Regions from separate parts of the Homo sapiens genome. Here all the other regions are linked to region 4. The links are contacts of gene promoters, found by promoter capture Hi-C in human tissues and cell types (Jung and others, 2019). All regions are on one chromosome and are shown on one strand. Each heading gives the region's core, a stretch centred on a gene start or on the middle of the fragment in contact. The rest is flanking DNA. Distances are from core to core; before and after follow the strand shown. Region 1 overlaps ZNF555 (zinc finger protein 555). Region 2 overlaps ZNF556 (zinc finger protein 556). Region 3 has its middle 21 kb from the start of ZNF77. Region 4 holds the start of GNG7 (G protein subunit gamma 7).

The links. Contacts are between HindIII fragments. The study calls those that stand out against the background at their distance.
Region 1: a fragment that was not itself captured here is called in contact with the fragment with the promoter of GNG7 in region 4 in 2 of the 25 tissues and cell types used here (dorsolateral prefrontal cortex and lymphoblastoid cells).
Region 2: a fragment that was not itself captured here is called in contact with the fragment with the promoter of GNG7 in region 4 in 3 of the 25 tissues and cell types used here (dorsolateral prefrontal cortex, liver and pancreas).
Region 3: a contact is called between a fragment that was not itself captured here and the fragment with the promoter of GNG7 in region 4, in 1 of the 25 tissues and cell types used here (aorta).

Annotation. Positions count from the first base shown.
Region 1 is chr19:2,854,887-2,858,116 of GRCh38, forward strand. ZNF555 (zinc finger protein 555) reads left to right here. Exons shown (of 4, transcript NM_152791.5): 4 at 1-3,230. Among named protein-coding and RNA genes, the nearest start is that of ZNF556, 11 kb to the right of the region's middle. The HindIII fragment of the contact is 5,176 bases long and covers 1-3,230 here.
Region 2 is chr19:2,880,263-2,883,476 of GRCh38, forward strand. It overlaps ZNF556 (zinc finger protein 556), which reads left to right. Exons shown (of 4, transcript NM_024967.3): 4 at 1-3,183. Among named protein-coding and RNA genes, the nearest start is that of ZNF556, 15 kb to the left of the region's middle. The HindIII fragment of the contact is 5,975 bases long and covers 1-3,214 here.
Region 3 is chr19:2,922,594-2,926,237 of GRCh38, forward strand. No RefSeq gene overlaps it. Among named protein-coding and RNA genes, the nearest start is that of ZNF77, 21 kb to the right of the region's middle. The HindIII fragment of the contact is 8,567 bases long and covers 1-3,644 here.
Region 4 is chr19:2,701,261-2,704,834 of GRCh38, forward strand. GNG7 (G protein subunit gamma 7) reads right to left here and starts at 1,434. Exons shown (of 5, transcript NM_052847.3): 1 at 1,386-1,434. RefSeq lists a silencer at 1,330-1,719. The HindIII fragment of the contact is 6,266 bases long and covers 1-3,574 here.

The sequences.
Region 1 (3,230 bases), core at 22-2,521, 150 kb after region 4:
CTTGTTTGGCAGTCTCTGAGCTTCTGATTCTCCCGTTCTGTAGATCTTAACATATTTGCATGGGGTCTAATTTATATAGTGAACACCTTGTTATCTTAATACTTCCAGTGGCTCTGTGATCCTGATTCCACCACGAAAGCCACAGTGTTGCAGTCAAAGAAGAAAAACAACACATGGGACTTTGTACCCTATTGCATTTTTAAGTGTGCCTGCCGAGTCCTATGTGAGAACAAATACCTTCCTCATATATTAGATTTAGGGAGATTTCTGTTACTCAGAACTAAATGCAGTTTCTTGATATAGGTTAAATTATTAGGTTTGATTATGTATCATTAAAAATAATGTGGATTTTGTTTCAAGGAAAACCTTCTGTAGATATTTCTTAGAAATATCCTGTTTAGCTGGGCACAGTAGCTCATGCCTGTAATCCCTGCACTTTGGGAGGCTTGAGGTCAGGAGTTTGAGACCAGCCTGGTTAACATGGTGAAACCCTGTCTCTACTAAAAACACAAAAATTAGCCAGGCATGGTGGTGAGTACCTGTAACCCCAGCTACTTGGGAGGCTGAGACAGGAGAAGTGCTTGAACCTAGGAGGCGGAGGTTGCAGTGAGCCAAGATCACACCACTGCACTCCAGCCTGGGAGACGGGGAAAGACTCCATCACACAAGCAAGAAAAGAAAAAAAAATCCTATTTACTGTGCTTTCAAATTAGTTGTTTAGAGACTATATTAATTTCCCAGGGCTGCCATAACAAAGTACAAAAACTGGGTGACATAGGAAAACAAACTTTTTGTTTCTCAGTTCTGGACCCAGAAATCCAGAAACAAGGCATTGGCAGGACCATGCTTTTTCTGAAGATGCTAGGGAAGGATCTGTTTCAGAACTCACCTAGCTTCTGGTAGTTCCTTAGCTTGTGGCAGCATAACTCTAATTTTCACATGGCATTCTCCCTGTGTGTGTGTCTCTCCATGTGACAATATTTTTATACATACACACCACTCATTGGGTTAGGCCCCACTCTACTTCAGTATGATTTTACCTTAACTAATTACATTGGCAACAGCTCTCTTTTCGCATACTGAGGCACCGCGAATTAAGATTTCAACGTAAAAATTTTAGGAGACCCAATTCAACCCATAACACTAAGAAATGTTATTTTTTGTTTACCGAGAGAATTACAGATTTCAAATCAACTTTGTAATTTTGATAATTTAAGCATGTTACATTTTGAATCAGTATTACCAAGTATATACAAATACAGGTATTTTTTCATATAAATGTTATTTTTAATTGCTGTATACTTAACATTTGCCATTAAAATGATTTTTTTTTTTTGAGACAGAGTCTCGCTCTGTCACCCAGGCTGGAGTGCAGTGGCACGACCTTAGCTCACTGCAACCTTCATCTCCCAGGTTCAGTTGATTCTCCTGCCTCAGCCTCCCGAGTAGTTGGGATTACAGGCATGCACCACCACACCCAGCTAATTTTTTTATTTTTGGTAGAGATGGGGTTTCACCATGTTGGCCAGGCTGGTCTTGAACTCCTGACCTCAGGTGATCTGCCCACCTTGGCCTCCCAAAGTGTTGGGATTACAGGCATGAGCCACCACACCCGGCCTAAAATGATTTCTTATTTGTGGTTAATAACAATTAAAAAGCGGAAATAATGGTTTTGTCAAGGCCCTCTACCCAGAAACCACCAGGATCACACTGGTAGTCAAAGAAAATTTGCTGTGTTGAGTTGAAGTTTGAACACATGATCAAGAAAGGGCTGTGGCTTGTATCAGAGGGTGTTTAAAAGGATTTACTATCAGATTTGGCCTTGTGTTCTGTGATTTTGGTGAGCGTTCAAGGAAGCCAGGCTTTGGTCTGGATTGGATGTTCTCAGGTCATGAATATAATTCTCTGGGAACTCCCAAAGTTCTCATCTACAAAGCAGAAGTTAATTGGAGCTGAAAACTAATCAGTAAAGCCACAGCAGCCAGTCATATGGGGGAGAAGAGGGGAATGTTTGATGGTTTTTGTGGTTTAGAGGTGAGTTCCGGAAAAAAAGAAGACATGTTTGACATCCTCAAACGAGAAAATTTTTCATGTGTTTTATAGGCCAAGGAGGCAGAAGCTTTTGTTTTAATGAGCCAGAAAGCCCCAAAAGCCTATTTAAGTTTTCTCAGGTATCATTTCAACCTCTGAACTTCCAGAATTAACTAGGGAAGAGGAAAAACATGTAACACCTTAGAGTTTTATTAAAGAGCAAACAATATCCAGTAATCTCCATTACTTTCCATGTTAACATAAGTTTTCATAACGCTCTATAGATGAATGTGATTTGGCAGTCACTTGTATTTCTTAACACCCACTTACCCATCATTCCCTCTTAGATGAAAAAAGTTAAGCACGGGGACAACAGAGTCTTGTATATTCATGTAGCTCATGATGATGGAATCAAGTTTGAAGGCTTAACCTGTGCTTAACCTATATTGGGCATTGTCAAGACTTAAATTTAGAACACTGGAAAGCAAGTATAATTAATTTTACAAATAGGGCATCAAATTTTACAAAGACTCCTAAGGCTATATGGTATTCCTTTTATAAGACATGGAAAAGGCAAAGATAAGGGAAACGAACAAATCGCTGGTTAGAAGTAGGGGATTTGAGTACATATGGGCTTAAGAGTGTTCTGTCATGATTGTAGTGGTGAAAACAAGCATTTGCAAAAACTCATAAGGCTACTCTTAAAATAGCAAATTTTGTTGTATGTATATTTTAAAGTTAAACAATAAAAATGCTTTCAGTTTATTAAAGAACTCAAGACCAGGTGCAGTGGCTCATGCCTATAATCCCAGCACTTTGGGAAGCTGAGGCGGGAGGATTGCTTGTGGCCAGGAGGTTGAGGCTGCAGTGAACTATGATCATGCACTGCACTCTACACTGGGCGACAGAGCAAGACCCTGTCTCAAAAAAAAAGGAATACAAAACATTCCTGAAACTTGACATGTAAGTTCGCAATAAGACTTTTCCCTAGCTGGGCGCGGTGACTCATGCCTGTAATCTCAACATTTTGGGAGACTGAGGCAAGAGGATCACTTGAAGTCAGGAGCTAGACACCAGTCTGGGCAACATAGCGAGACCTCAACTCTACCAAAAAATTAAAAAGTGAGCCAGGCGGGGTGGTGCACGTCTGTGGTCCCAGCTACTTGGCAGGCTGAAGCAGGAGGATCACTTGAGGCCTT
Region 2 (3,214 bases), core at 586-3,085, 180 kb after region 4:
TTTCTGTTTCTGAGAAATATCTATTTACTGTGTTTGTGTTTTTAAAGAAGTTGGATTCTATACAAATGGATAAAATGTTTCTTAGAAATAGCCTATTTAACTGAGTTTTTCAAATAAGTTGTATACTAACAAATGTCAATCTCTGTTTTTTATTTACTGGGAGAATGTATTAAAATATTGAAAATTGCCAAATCAACATGGTGACTTTAAAAATGATACTTCTGGGCCAGGCACAGTGGCTCACGCCTGTAATCCCAGCACTTTGGGGAGGCCAAGGCGGGCAGATCATGAGGTCAAGAGATCGAGACCATCCTGGCTAACACGGTGAAACCCCATCTCTACTAAAAATACAAAATATTAGTGGGGTGTGCTGGTAGGTGCCTGTAGTCCCAGCTACTCGGGAGGCTGAGGAAGGAGAATGGCTTGAACCTGGGAGGCGGAGCTTGCCAAGATTGCGACACTGCACTCCAGCCTGGGTGACAGAGCGAGACTCCGTCTCAAAAAAAAGAATTATACTTCTGAATTAATATTACCAGATGCATTCAGATTTAGACATTTTCTTTCTAGTACATTTGTTTCCTATACTGTTATAATTTTGTCTAAGAAATTCTTTTTTTTTTTTTTGAGACAGATTCTCGCTCTGTTACCCAGGCTGGAGTGCAGTGCCGTGATCTTGGCTCACTGCAACCCCCCCGCCAAGGTTCAAGTGATTCTCCTACCTCAGCCTCCTGAAGAGCTGGGATTACAGGCACCCGCCACCACACCCGGCTAATTTTTGTATTTTTAGTAGAGACGGGGTTTCACTATGCTGGCCAGGCTGGTCTCGATCTCCTGACCTTGTGATCTGCCCACCTCGGCCTCCCAAAGTGCTGGGGTTACAGGCGTGAGCCACCGCGCCCAGCCTAATAAATTCTTGTTTATTCATAATGACAAAAACTTACGTAACGGTTTTATAAATTTAAGTATTAAATAAGTCTAGCAAAAGACATAAAAAGATAACTAATAAAACAAGTTTAAACTTTATTGGAGCCCAGTAGCAATGGCTCACGCCTGTAATCCCAGGACCCACCGAGGCGGGTGGATCACCTGATGTGAGGAGTTCGAGACCACGCTGGCCAACATGGTGAACATGGTGAAACCTTGTCTCTACTAAAAATACAAAAAATTGGCCAGGCGTGGTGGCAGGCGCCTGTAATCCCAGCTACTTGGGAGGCTGAGGCAGGAGAATCGCTTGAACCCGGGAGGCAGAGGTTGCAGTGAGCCAAGATTGCGCCACTGCACTCCAGCCTGGGCGACAAGAGTAAGACTCCATCTCAAAAAAAAAAAAATTTTTTTTTTGGATAATATCAAGGCAGAATAAAGTATAGTATCAAACTTGACAAGGTAGATAATAGGGAATGCAGAATAAAGGATCGGGCTTCAGTAAGTGACAATCTCATCATGAATTCATTTATAGTTCCACCATGTAATATGTCTTAAATACTATTTCTTTTTTTTTAATACTATTTCAAGAACTGCTCATGAGTTAGGAAATAGTGAGCAGTAATACAGAAATAACGGCAGGACCAGGGGCAGTGGCTCACACTTGTAATTCCAAAGCTTCGGGAGGCTGAGGCAGGAGGATCACTTGAGCACAGGAGTTCAAGGCCAGTCTGGGCACATAGTGAGACACAGTCTCTATAAAAAGAAATTTTTAAAAGTATCTAGGCATGGTGATGTGCACTTGTAGAGCCAGCTACTCAGGAGGCTGAGGGTGGAGGATGGCTTGAGACCAAGAGGTCCAGGCTGCAATGAGTTATCTTGCCACTGTACTCCAGCCAGGGTGACAGAATGAGACCGTGTGTCAAATTAAAAAGAAAAAAAGAAACAATAATTATTTCCCTGGCCGGGCGCGGTGGCTCACGCCTGTAATCCCAGCACTTTGGGAGGCTGAGGCGGGTGGATCACGAGGTCAGGAGATCAAGACCATCCTGGCTAACCCGGTGAAACCCTGTCTCTAGTAAAAAATACAAAAAATTAGCTGGGCGTGGTGGCAGGTGCCTGTAGTCCCAGCTACTCGGGAGGCTGAGGCAGGAGAATGGCGTGAACCCAGGAGGCGGAACTTGCAGTGAGCAGAGATCGAACCACTACACTCCAGCCTGGGCGACTGAGTGGGACTCTGTCTCAAAAAAAAAAAGAGACAAAAGGTATATTTATGGTTCAGCCTCATTTCTGCAAATATTAAAAATTTTAGGGCATGATGTATACATTTTATATATATATATATATAGTGTGTGTGTGTGTGTGTGTGTGTGTGTGTGTGTGAATGTGTGTGACGGAGTTTTGCTCTGTTGCCAGGCTGGAGTGCAGTGGTGCGATCTCAGCTCACTGCAACCTCCACCTCCCAGGTTCAAGCGATTCTCCTGCCTCACCCTCCCAAGTGGCTGGGAATACAGGCGTGCCCCGCCACGCCCAGCTAATTTTTTGTATTTTTAGTACAGGTGGGGTTTCACCTTGTTGGCCAGGATGGTCTCGATCTCTTCACCTCGTGATCTGCCCGCCTTGGCCTCCCGCAGAGCTGGGATTACAGGCGTGAGCCACCGCACCAGGCCCATGTCATATGTTTTTATGAGTTTGGACATTGGCATCTGGGACCAGGTACTTCATCTGGATTTGAACCACAATGTGGGTGTTTGTTTTTAATACCTTTGTGAAATAATTTTAAATTGCCTTATATATTTGGCATTGTCACTTTGCTGCCCCTACACACTGATGGAAAAATTGTGTTCTGCAGAAAACTAGAGTTCCTCACAGGGTGAGGAAGAGTTATGGTCATCTGCACAGTTGTAGCCCGTTGCGAGTGTTTTCCCATGTGCACAGTGATATCTAGGCAAGTGTGCCATGATTTCCTGGTGAGGATAAAATCTATGGACGGTGAGAGAACTAGTCAAGGAATAACTGAAGTGAGCTGCAGACAGGATTATCATTTTGAGTAACATCCCAATGTATTTGTCATCCTTTAATTAATTTTTATTTTTTTAATTAAAAAATAATTTTTAAGTGTAAACCTTTAATGATCCACAAAGCCCAAAATGTCCATTTGATTTTCATAGGTATCGTTTCCATATGCTTAGACTTCCAGCAGCTATTAGAAGAGAAAAATATGTAACAGCTTTGTGTTTAATTAAAGGCAAATGAAATCCAGTCTGTGTCCATTTTCAATGTTAATAGTCTT
Region 3 (3,644 bases), core at 751-3,250, 220 kb after region 4:
ATTTATTTTTTTGAGACAGAGTTTCACTCTTGTTGCCCAGGCTGGAGTGCAATGGCGTGATCCTGGCTTACTGCAACCTCCACCTCCTGGGTTCAAGCGATTCTCCTGCCTTGGCGTTCCAGGTAGCTGAGACTACAGGCATGCGCCACCATCCTCGGCTAATTTTGTATTTTGAGTAGAGATGAAGTTTCACCATGTTGGTCAGGCTCGTCTCAACCTCCTGACCTCAGGTGATCCACCTGCCTCAGCTTCCCAAAGTGCTGGGATTACAGGCGTGAGCCAATGTGCCCGCCCAGTAAGTTCTTTGAACGCAAACTGACTGCTGAGCCTAGACCACCCTGACACGCCGTGAGGGAGCCACCCAGCTGCTATTCCTGCCCTGCAGAACACCCTTAGGGCCACAGTGGTGAAAGTGATGATCTGTGGTCATAGACAAGCAAACCATGTGGAACTGACTGCCTCAGGCAGTCCCTCTGAAATCGGGGACTCAACTAACCTCATTGGACAGGACTGAGAATTCTCCCTACAGGGGGAGTCCGCGCTGAGTGTCTGTTAACCTTCACTGCTGACTAATGGATGTCTTGCTTAGGTTGCCCTGACAATTGTAAACTCAGTTTCCGGCAGTACCTTGTGTGTCCTGTGGGACTGTAATCAGGTGTGGAACCTATTGCAACACCGTCTGAGCTGTGGAAGCTTCAAATTACTGGCAAGAGTTCTGCTCTACCACACACTTGGTAAGTTAGGACAGGTAAAAAGGATTCATACACAAGTTTAAGGAGGAAGCCAGGTGGCTTTCTAAAATAGACCTTTATTTTAACTAAGTCCGAAACCCCTAAAGGGCATAGCTGGAATCATTCCTGCAAGCTCATTACCCCCATGCTGTGACGGTCTTACTGATGATTATTTTGTTGTAAAGCAGGGGCCAATAGGCTGCACTGCAAAAAACTTAGCAAAACAGGCCTGAGTGCTATCCCTTGAAAGGCCCGTTTACAAGGTCAGCTGTGTCAAAATTGCACAAGCAATATGGTTTATGCAAAACACCATTCATTCCAGGCATCTGGAATCTTGGTATTTGCCAAGCAGTGAGTGCATCATAACCAGCTGGCAATAAAAAAAAACCCTGGCAGAGTATCTATTGAGCTTCTCAGGTTGGTAAATAGTCACACATGCTGTTACAATTAGTTTCCCGGGCAGTAAAAGCATCTTGTACGCTGCCAACCAGGGAGGACCCTTGGAAGCTCATTCCTGGTTTCCCCGACTTCACCCCATGTGCCTCATCCCTTTGCTAATAGTTGGCTCTGTTTCCTTGCACTGTAATAAGTCTTAGCTGTAAGGCTGACTATATGCCAGTTCCCTTCAGTACCCCTAACAAATCACTGAACCACTGGGGGTGGCCTTGAGGCCCCCCAGTACACTTGACATCCTGAAACTGGGAAATTTTAAAGGCATTTTCATAAGAGTGGATGGAAGTTTTGTGTTTTAATAATCTGCAAAGCTCAAAAAGCCCATTTTGCTTTTCAAAGATATGATTTTCATAAGTTTGCACTTCCACCAAATGGGCTCACAGGAAAGAGAAGAAAATGTAATAGCTTTCTGTGTGCGTGTGGTGGGGGGCGTTGTTTCTTTGTAGAGATGAGGTCTCACTATGTTGACCAGGCTGGTCTGGAACTCCTGGACTCAAGTAATCCTCCTGCCTCAGCCTCCCAAAGCTCTGGGATTAAAGTTGAGAGCCACCACCCCTGGCCAATAGCTTTGCATTTTGTTAATGAGGAAAGCAAATGAAATTCTGTCAATTTCTCGATGTTAAGTACTGCAGAGATTAATATGACTTACCATCTCATTGCACCTCCTGTTCCCAGCTTCCCTCCCATCATACAAATGAAGAAAGTTAAGCACAAGGAACACAGAATCTTAACCTTAACTCACATATCTTGATGTAAACATAGTAATTTAACCTCTCAGTTTTGAAGGCCTGTTATCTGCCACCTCTTATACTTAGCTCTGTCGATTGTTTTTTTTTTTTTTTTTCCAGACGGAGCTTCGCTCTTGTTGCCCAGGCTGGAGTGCAATGGCGCGATCTCGGCTCACCGCAACGTCTGCCTCCTGGGTTCAAGCGATTCTCCTGCCTCAGCCTCCTGAGTAGCTGGGATTACAGGCATGCCCGGCCAACTTTTTGTATTTTTAGTAGAGACGGGGTTTCTCCGTATTGGTCAGGCTGGTCTCCAACTCCTGACCTCAGGTGATCCGCCCACCTCGGCCTCCCAAAAATGCTGGGATTACAGGTGTGAGCCACTGTGCCCAGCCTGTCAAATGTTTTTAAACTGAAAATTCTACAAGACAATAATAGGCTGGGCGCCATGGCTCACACCTGTAAACCCAGCACTTCGGGAGGCCAAAGTGGGAGGATTGCTTGAGCTCAGGAGTTCGAGGCCAGCCTGGGCAACATAAGGAGACCTTGTCTCTACTAAAAAAATTTTTTTTAATTAGCAAGGCATGGTGCTGCATGCCTGGAGTCCCAGCTACCGGGGAGGCTGAGGCGGGAGGATCACTTAAGCCCAGACGTTTGAGGCAGCAGTGAGCTATGACTGTGCCCCTCCCACTCCAGCCTAGGTGACAGGATGTGACCCTTGTCTCAATCAATCAATAAATGACAAGTATAATTAGCTAATTTTACAAATATGGCATCGAATTTTACAAACAGGGCTCAAAAGGCTACATATTTCACGTAACATGACATTCTGGAAAAGGCAAAGATACAGGTGGCTAAAGCAGATCAGTGGTTAGGGGTGAAAGGTTGAGTACAATTGGGCAATCCAAGAGTATTTGGGGAGTGATAGAATGTTCTCTGTTTTGGTGGTGTAAATATGCATTTATGAAAACTCATAGAAATACGCTTAAAATAGTCTTACTGTATGTATATTAAAAATAATCAACAACAACAAACCGCTTTCGCTTACTAAGAGAAAATGTAAACTCTCCTGAACTTTGAAAACATGCAATGTGGCTGGGCGCGGTGGATCACGCCTGTAATCCCAGCATTTTGGGAGGCCGAGGTGGGCGGATCACGTGAGGTCAGGAGTTCAAGGCCAGCCTGACCAACATGGTGAAACCCCGTCTCCACAAAAATACAAAAAATTAGCCGGGCGTGGTGGCAGGTGCCTATAATCCCAGCTACTCGGGAGGCTGAGGCAGGAGAATCGCTTGAACCTGGGAGGCGGAGGTTGCGGTGAGCCCGAGATAGCGCCACTGCACTCCAGCCTGGGCAACAAGAGCGAAACTCCATCTCAATAAATAAATAAATAAATAATTAAAATGAAAGAAAAGAAAAGAAAACGTGCAACGTTTCTTTTACCACCTTTGGATACTCAGGAAGCACTGAAGGTCTGAGGAAGGAGGGCTCATGCCCCAAATTTGCCTGTACTGATGTTAGGAAATGCCCTTTCGGGCCGCGCCTGCTAAGAACGCTTCTGTGAGATTTCAGTTTATTCACGTCCCCAGGGTCAGATCTTTGGAGATGCTGTGGTTTTGAAAACCTAAAAGCGCACTCCAGTTCTCCCAAAGGGGGACCCTTCCTAGTGGGGGGTCCTAATCCTCAAGCATCAGCCGAGGACTTGGCTTCAGGCCAGTTTCGACTCTCCAGCTCC
Region 4 (3,574 bases), core at 184-2,683:
TCCAAATTCCTTTTAACTGGATCCTACCTGAGACACCTCCCCACACCCCGTTTTCCTCCTGATTAGTCAATGTCTAGCAAAACACCTGCCCCCAGGTGTCTCCAGCCTGGGACCTTACCCCCACCTCCCTTCTCACTAACTCACCCCAACTTCCTTCTCCCTGAACCCCCTTCCACCCCACACACTCACAAGCTCCCCATTTCCCCTGATAGCCCCCAGACCCTTTCTGGAACAAGCCTGACCCCCACCTGTATGCTCCAGCCACTCCCTGGCTCACCCCAGCTTTGTCCTTCTGCCCCTTTTCAGCTAACCCTAACCCCTGGGCCGTCAATCACACCCCCCCATCTTCACCAACCCCATTCCTCAGTCCTCTCCCCAGACAACCTCAACATCTAATTCCCTCTGCAGCCCCCTCTCCAATGAACCCCACTTCAAACTCCATCCCCAGCCCCCTCTCCAGCTCCCTGCAAACCTCAACCCCACTCCCAGCTCCCTCTTCAAAGAAGCTGCACCCTTGACTCAACCCCTGTTCCCCGCTCCAATTAACCTCAACCCCCAACACCATCCCCAGCGTCCTCCCCAGCTAACTCAGATTTCCAATTCCACTTCCAGCCCCCTCCCCAGCTAACCTCGACCTACAATTCCAGCCCCCTCCCCAGCTAGCTTGGACCTCCAATCCCACTCCAAGCCCCCTCGGCAGCTAACCTCGACCTGCGACTCTAGCCCCCTCCCCAGCAAACTCAAGACCTCCAATTCCACCACCAGCCCCTTCCTAGCTAACCTGGACCTGCAATTCCAGACCCCTCCCCAGCCAACTCAGACCTCCAATCCCGCTCCAAGCTCCCTCCCCAGCTAACCTCGACCTGCAACTCCAGTCCCCTCCCCAGATAACTCAGACCTCCAGTCTCACCCCCAGCCCCCTCCTCAGCTAACTCAGACCTCCAATCCCACCTCCAGCCCCCTCCCCAGCTAACCTGGACCTGCAACTCCAGCCTCCTCCCCAGCTGGCCCTGATTTCTAAGTGGAGTCCCAATGCCCAGACCCAATCCTTCCCCAGCTAACCTCGATCTGCACCCCCTGCCCCGTCCCCAGCTAACCTCGACCTGCAACTCCCGCCCCCTCCCCAGCTAGCCCTGAGCCCCAAGTGCAGTCCCAATCCCCAACCCCAGCCCCTCCCCAGCTAACTTCGACCCCCTAAGCGCAGCCCCGTCCCCAATTCCAACCCCAGCCTCCAGTTGCAGCCCGGGTCCCCAGACCCAGCCCCCCTCCTCAGCCGACTCCGACCCCCAACTCGGTCCGCAGCCGAATCCGAGCTGTCCCAGTCCCCTCTCCGGGACGCCGGCCGCGCCCTCACTTCCCCTGGCCCGGTTCGCGGGCGCCCTTACCTGCGCTCGGGCCCCGCGGCCGCCTCAGCCCCGCCGCGCAGCCGAACCCTCCGCCCCGGCCCGCGAGCGCTCGCTCCCCTCTGCGGGGGCGGGGCCGACACTCGGGGGGCGGGCCCTGGCGTCCCGGCAAGGCCAATCGCGAGCCCCGGCTGCGGGAGGCCGGAGCGGGGGCGGGGCGCGGGGCAGGCAGCGGGGTAGGCTGCGCCCAGGAGAGTGGGGCGGGGCTCCGGGCGCGGGCGGGGCCGGGGGCGGGGCGAAGAGCGGCTTTCCAGGGTGACTTCGTGACGTCAGGAAGGCGCGAGTAGTTTCGCGAGTTCGAATCCCGCGCTAGGTGAGCTGGTTCGAATCCTGCATGCCAGCTCCGGGGGCTCATTTGCTGGGGAAGAATGTCAGTGATCATAACTGCTGCACCGCTTTCTTGAAGACTTTATAGGCTCCCTCTCGTGGGACCCTCCGCATAAGGCCAGAAGGCGAGATTACTATCCACATTTTACAGAGGTGGAAACTGGGTCTCAGAAAGGTGAAACCTAAGGTCATTTGCCCAAGCCTGTCTCATCATTTCCAAGATTTCTCAGTTTCCTAACTCATGGCCCTGGATCCACAAATTCCTGAGCCCCAACACAGATGGAATGAACCAGAATCCTATAGGGAACTGGACCCTGAAATCTGTGTTTTGTTTAGTTTTCGTTTTGTTTTTGAGACAGGGTATCACTCAATTGCCGTGGCTGGACTGCAGTGGTGCAGTCATAGCTCACTGCAGCTTTGAAGTCCCAGGCTCAAGCAGTCCTTCCACCTCAGCCTTCCGGGTAGCTGGGGCCACAGGCACGCACCACCACATCCAGCTAATTTTTGTATTATTAGTAGAGACAGGGTTTCACCGTTTTGGCCAGGCTGGTCTCCAACTCCTGACCTCAGGTGATCCACCTTTCTTGGCCTCCCATAGTGCTGGGATTACAGGCGTGAGCCACCGTGCCTGGCCCTGGCTAATTTTTTTTTGTTAGAGATGGGGTCTTGCTATGTTGCCCAAACTGGTCTTGAACTCCTGGGCTCAAGTGATTCTCCTGCCTCTGCCTCCCAAAATGCTTGGATTACAGGCCTGGAATCTTCATTTTCCACAAGCTCCCTTGGGAATATTGGAAAACACTTTGTATGTCTCCAAAAGCAGTACACAGCCCTGGAAGGAAGATGGAGCCACCATATTCTGTGACCTCAGGGATTTCATCAGGCGCTGACACTGTGTGTCCTTGCCGCCCCACCTGAGCCCTGGGATTGGAGCTGCTGGCCAAAATCCAAGATAAACTTCCCCAGGGTTCCTGTCATCCCTGCAAGAACCTCCCTGCTCATCCTCTGGACTCCAGTGGCCTGCCCTGCAGGGCACAGAGAAACCTCCATCTCCCTGCTTGCCCTCCTCCAGGCTCTCCCCAGCTGGCATCCCCCAAGAGGAATGACTGTCTAGATAGAGCTTGGGAAGGGCACGGTGGCTCACGACTGTATTCCCAGCACTTTGGGAGGCTGAAGCGGGAGGATCGCTTGAGCCCAGGAGTTCAAGACCAGCCTGGCAACATACTGAGACCGCAACTCTACAAAAAAATTAAAATATTAGCCAGGCCTGGCGGCGCACACCAGTAGTCCCAGCTACTTCGGAGGCGAAAGCAGGAGGATCGCTTGAGCTTAGGAGGTTGAGGCTGCAGTGAGCTTTGATCACACCACTGCACTCCAGCCTGGGCGATAGAGTGAGACTCTGTCTCAAAAAAAAAAAAAAAAAGTGTTAAATACACAATGCAATATGATTCGGCCATAACAAAGAATAAAACCCTGTCATTTGCAGCAAAATGGATGGGACTGGAGGTCATTATATTAAGTGAAAAAGTGAAATAAGCCAGACACAGGAAGACAAATAGGGCATGTTGTCACTGATACGTGGGAACCAGAGAGTTGATCTCATGGAGGTAGAGAGTAGAATGATCAATACCAGAGGCTGGAAAGTTGTGTAGGTTGAGTGGGGGGGAAATGAAAAGAGGTGAGTTATGAGTACAAACATTCAGTTAGACAGAAGGAATACATTCTAATGTTTGATAGCAGAATAGGATGTATTCTGCTATCAAATATAGTATTAGAATAAATTCTAATGTTTGATAGCAGAATAGGGTGACTGTAGTTAGCAACAATGTATTGTACATTTCAAAATA